Regions from separate parts of the Homo sapiens genome. Here region 1 is linked to region 2. The links are contacts of gene promoters, found by promoter capture Hi-C in human tissues and cell types (Jung and others, 2019). All regions are on one chromosome and are shown on one strand. The core of a region is centred on a gene start or on the middle of the fragment in contact, and the rest is flanking DNA. Distances in the headings are between cores, read along the strand shown. Region 1 has its middle 7.8 kb from the start of SCRT2. Region 2 holds the start of SOX12 (SRY-box transcription factor 12).

What was found. The method cuts DNA at HindIII sites, captures the fragments that hold promoters and counts their contacts. A contact is called where the count stands out against the background at its distance.
Region 1: a contact is called between a fragment that was not itself captured here and the fragment with the promoter of SOX12 in region 2, in 1 of the 25 tissues and cell types used here (lymphoblastoid cells).

The regions. Positions count from the first base shown.
Region 1 is chr20:682,263-684,962 of GRCh38, reverse strand. No RefSeq gene overlaps it. Among named protein-coding and RNA genes, the nearest start is that of SCRT2, 7.8 kb to the right of the region's middle. The HindIII fragment of the contact is 3,071 bases long and covers 1-2,700 here.
Region 2 is chr20:324,281-326,980 of GRCh38, reverse strand. SOX12 (SRY-box transcription factor 12) reads right to left here and starts at 1,429. Exons shown (of 1, transcript NM_006943.4): 1 at 1-1,429. The coding sequence starts at 1,056. The coding sequence ends at 109. It overlaps NRSN2-AS1 (NRSN2 antisense RNA 1), which reads left to right and starts at 1,729. Exons shown (of 3, transcript NR_109990.1): 1 at 1,729-1,839. RefSeq lists silencers at 300-789, 810-869, 940-1,319, 1,430-1,739, 2,300-2,559. The HindIII fragment of the contact is 5,512 bases long and covers 1-2,700 here.

The sequences.
Region 1 (2,700 bases), core at 57-2,556, 360 kb before region 2:
GGGGCATGTGGACATTCTGACTCCTTAGCAACCTGTCCACTGGCAAAGTCTGCGGTCAAGCACAGGTCAATATTGACAGCCCCCTGCCTCCATGCACCTGGGCCACCTCCTGGCTTTCTCTAGAAGCTGATGAGTCCCAGCTGGTATATGAGCAGAGGCAGGGAGCAGGAGGCAGAGCCGGGGCTGCTGAGAGGGGTTGATTCCTCTGTGCCAGGAGTCCTGGGAGCCTGGAAATGCCAACTCTGCAGCTCCATTGCCACCTCAGCATCTCCCAGGCATGGTTCTGAGCTCGGCTGGTGGGGAAGAGAGGGAGGCAAGAGAGGCCACCTTGGAGTGAGGAAGCCCATCCTGACTTGGCAGGGAGCCTGAATGTTCCAGGGAAAGCATTTCCCTGTCCCATGCCTCAGGTTCCACAACTGTCAAATGGGGGTGGGGAGGAGACAATGCTGTTATCTCAAAGGCCCTTCAAGTAGAGCTCCCACTTACCAAGGGCTGACTATACATGAAGCCCCCTACAGCCCTACTTAGCAGGTGCTCCCACTGGCCTCTGTTTACAGAGATGAAATAGAGCTGCAAAGAGGCAAAGTAACTTGCCCAGGGCCAACCAGCTTGAAGAGGCAGAGCCAGGATTAAAATTTGGCTCAGCCAGGTACAGTGGCTCACATCTATAATCCCAGCACTTTAGGAGGCCGAGGCGTGAGGATCACTTGAGGCCAAGAGTTTGAGACCAGTCTGGGAAGTATAGCAAAATCCCATCTCTACAAAGAGTTTAAAAATTAGCCAGGGCATGGTGGCATGCACCTGTAGTCCCAGCTGCTCAGGAGGCTGAGGGAGGAGGATCACTTGACCCCAGGAGTTCAAGGCTGCCATAAGCCATGATCACAACACTGCACTACAGCCTGGATGAGAGCAAGACCCTACCTCTACAAAATAAAAATAAAAAATAAAACTTGGCTCAGGGTGACCCAGGCCCAAACGCTGAGTTATCCCACTTGCTTGAATGGTGGGCTCTTGTCTAGGGGCTTTTGGCCAGCCCACCGCTAAACCATGCCAGAGGCCCACCCCAAATACCCTGACCCCGCAGGCAGCCTGGTGATCAGACTCCTGATAGCCAATTCCTTCTTCCAGAGGTTTCAGAGACCTGCTTAAGATGGGACCTTGTCAGGGACAGGAGTTAGAATGTTTAGGGATGTCTCCAACTTTGAAAGAAAGACTTTTTTTCTTTTCTTTCTTTCTTTTTTTTTTTTTTTTAAGACAGAGTCTCACTCCATCACCTAGGCTGGAGTGCAGTGGCGCAGTCTTGGCTCACTGCAACCTCCTCCTCCCAGGTTCAAGCGATTCTCATGCCTCAGCCTCCTGAGTAGCTGGGATCACAGGCACGCCCCATCATGCCCAGCTGATTTTTGTATTTTTAGTAGAGACAGGGTTTCACCATGTTGGCCAGTCTGGTCTCGAACTCCTGAACTCAGGTGATCCACCCGCCTCGGCCCCCCAGAGTGTTGGGATTACAGGCGTGAGCCACCGGACCTGGCCTGAAAGAAAGACATTTTAATGGAGGAATACCAATGTCTGTAACAGTCAAGATAGAAATCTAATTATCACCCAAAACAGAGGGATATCTTGACGGTTGACACGTCAACCTGGCTCTGGTCAAAGGGGACCAAGGTGACTGCGGGTCGCAAGAAGGTTTTTCACTCATTAGTTTATTCATTCAATTGATGTATTTACTGAGCACTTACTATTTACCCGGCTCTGGGTAGACGATGGAGGTGCGGCAATGAATGGAGCAGATCCGGAATCCCACTCAAGGAGCTGTCAGCCCTGGCAGGGGGAAGGGGAGGGACATTCTTTGGAGGGCCCTCACCTACCCACCCTAGCATTGGTATCTTTTGCCCTCTTAGAGGGAAGGACTCATGGTTTAAGATCAGGACTTTGTAGCCAGGCAGCCTGGTTTAAATACTGACACCACTGATTCCTAGCTGGGTCTCCTTGGGCAAGTCACCTTGCATCTGTGAGCCTTGGTTTCCTCATCTGTAAAATGGGGATAGCCATGGGCCACACTCACAGGTTGTTATGATGGTTAAGTGAGGCAATCTATGTAAAGGGCTGGACTTGGCTCCTAGCACATAATAAGTGCTCAATAAATGTCAACTAGCTCCTTTCCACTACATATCACCCCTATCCTGGGCTAGATCCTGGGGTCAGGCAAGGGAGCGATGGGAGGAGGGGTTACCTAGGCAAGGAAGGGGGTGGAAGAGTGCTCTGGGCAGTGGGAACAATATATGCAAAGGCTTTGAGGTGGAAGTCTTTGAGGGAGCAAGGTAGAAGCTTCAGGGGGAGCTGGGACCCTGCTATGCCCCCAGCCACCACAGTAGGCCCCTTCCTGTTAAGGCTGTGAGGTCCTGAGCCAATGAAAAATGAAAATGGAAATGGTCCCAGAAATTGCCACCAAGGCATTTGCAGCTGGAGAGGAGGCAGTGTGGTGGAGTGGTCAGAGCAGAGCCTCCAAGCAGCTTGCCTGGGTTGGATTTGTGGCTTATCACCTACTGGCTGTGAAACCTTGGGCAACTTACTTAACCTCTTTGTGCTCAGTTTCTCCCTCTATAAAATGGGGCTAAAAATACCATCTGTCTCAAAAGGCGAGGGTAAGGATTAACTAAGGTAATATTTGTAAAGTGCATAGATCAGTAACTGGCACAT
Region 2 (2,700 bases), core at 180-2,679:
GCTGCGCGGGAGATGGGGTGCCAGCCTCGGCCTCCGAGGGGCCCCAATACCTGATTCCTGTATGTAAACAGCTGGTTTGGGGGCGTGCGCGCCCCGCTGACGGTGGGCTCAGTAGGTGAAAACCAGGTCTGCGATGCTAGACGGGCGCCAGTCCCCCGCGATCATCTCGGTAACCTCGGGGGTGCAGTAGTCCGGGAACTCGAAGTGCGACGTGCCCGAGGGAGGCTGCAGGTCCGGGTCGCGATCCAGGGCGCTGCAGTCCAGGCCGGCCGGGCCAGGGGGCAGCCTGGACAGAAAGCCCAGCGACTCCTCCCCCGACGCCACCGTCTCCTCTTCACCTTCCTCAGCCGCTGCCGCCTCCTCCTCCTCTTCCTCCGGCTCCTCGTCCTCCGACGGTGTCGGGGAGGCGGCGGCGGCGGCGGCCGCCCCCTCGCCCGACGGCCCTTGGGCGCGCTCCGCTTGTCCCCGAGCGGCCCGTCCCGCCGGGACCATCCTCCACAGCTCCCGCCCCGGGGTCTCGACCAGGCGCACTTCCAGCAGCTCCTCGTCGTCGTCTTCATCGTCGTCCTCGGGCGCCGCCGCCCCGCCCCCCAAAGGCCCTCCCGCTGCTCGGCGGCCCCCGCGGCCAGGCAGCTGCGGCCCGGGCTTGAGCCGGCTGCCGCCACCGCTACCACCGGGGGGGCGGGGCCGCGCCTTGGCGGGCGCCCCCTTGCTCTTTTTGCGCGGCCGGTACTTGTAGTCCGGGTAATCCGCCATGTGCTTGAGCCGCAGCCGCTCCGCCTCCCGCACGAACGGGATCTTCTCCGAGTCCTGCAGCAGCTGCCAGCGGCGGCCCAGGCGCTTGGAGATCTCGGCGTTGTGCATGTCGGGCCACTGGTCCATGATCTTCCGCCGTTCGTGCTGCGACCACACCATGAATGCGTTCATCGGCCTCTTGATGTGGCCGCTCGGGGTCTTGCACCAGCCGGGCTCGCGCGCCCCCTCCTCGGCCGGCCCGGGTCCCGGGGGCGGCGGCCCGCCGTCCCGCTTGGCCCTCGCGCCCCGCTGCTGCACCATCGCGCCTGGGCCCGGGGCCGCTAGACGCCGCCGGGGGCCGTCCGCATCCTCCGCGGCTGGGGGTGGGGGAGGAGGCAGCGGCGACGGAGGGGCGGCCCCGCCCCGCGGCTCGGCCCGGCCCCCGCGAACTGGGGAGCGAGGAGCTGGGCGCTCGGGCCCAACGGACGGCGGGGGGAGAAGGTCAGCGCGGTCTCAGGCGGGCTCGGCGCGCCCCCGCCGCCTCCGGCAAGTTGCGTCCTGGCTCACAACACACATTGTTTTGCGGGGGCCGAGGAATCGCACCCTCCGGGCCCCCGCGGGCTCTTCCTGCAGCCTCTGGCTCCGCCGCGGCCCGCGCGCGCCGCTCCCCGCCCGGCCGCCGACGCCTTTCAGTGTCTTTCTCCCCGCGCGGCCCCGCCGGCGCGCGCACCACCCCTCCCCCTCGCCGTCTGCGGGCCGCTGCGGCGCGCGCGGGGCCGCCCCGTGTAAACACCGAGGTGCCCGCTTGGGCTGCGGCCGGGCCCCGCCTCGCGCTCGGGCGCCGCGTCACCCGTTGCTGGGCAGAGAAGCCGGTATTTGCATCTCCCAATCGCTGGCCGCCGGAGCGGGGCGGGGCTCGGGCTGCGGGGCTGGGCGGTCTCGCGGCTAGGATTGGGGGAGACCGGCGAGATCGGTTTCTTTTCTTAGGTTAGGGGTTGGAGGAAGGGTAGGGGACGCGAGCCTGCTTCCATCTGACGCTGGACGCTTGTCCCTGCCCCGCGTTGCCTTTTAAATTTTAGCTCATTCCGAGACACCTGCCGTCAGGTAGGATTTCCGCCCTTTCCTCTTTCAGGGACGTCTTTTCGGACCATCCCAGAAGAGAATTTGGGGGGCCCAAGACTCAGGAAAGCTTCTTAAGGGGACGAACTCAGGTTGTCGTAGATGTTGCCCCCCGCCTACTACACACAGGGTCCGACCACATATGGGACCAGCAAATGCTTTTGGACCTAGTGAACAAATCCCTTTCTCATATATATGTATATTTAATCTCGTTCGAAGCTCCATAAGAATCCGGAGGGAGAAGGGAATATGATAATATGATGCCCAGTTTCCAAATAGGAAGCACCGAGGACACGCAGACTAGGATTCGATTCCCAGGCTCGCGGTCCCAGCTGTCTCTCCCCTGCTCAGCACCAAGGGCCGCGGGGCACCTCGCCTGCCAGCCAAAGGTCCTGAGCTGGGCGGACTTCCCGCTTTTCACAAACCGCAGGCGACATTCGAGGATGCGTGGGTGCGCCATTCCCAGGTCCTACCCCACCCCGTAGCCTGCCCGGTGCCCGACTTGGGCGCGTCGCCCCACCCAAGCCTGGAGAAGCGTGCAGGGGCACGGGGCGGAGCCAGTCCTGGGGGCGTGGCCGGGTGGCCGGCACGAGGCGCGTGGCGGGGAGGGGCCGCGCGCTCCCGGCTCACCACGTGTGAGCCAGTTCGGGCACCACTGGGCGTGTGCCGCCCCTGGGGGAGGTCACCTTCACGGCGTCGTGAGCATGGGCGATGGGAGGGGGCGCTGAGGCCTCGCCCTTGGGAAGCAGGAGCTGGGAGGTGCCCGGATTAGGGTCTTTAAGGTGGCATTCCGCTGGGGCGTAGCGGGCATGGTTTGGGGCTAGGAGAATGCGCCTCTGGCGGTAC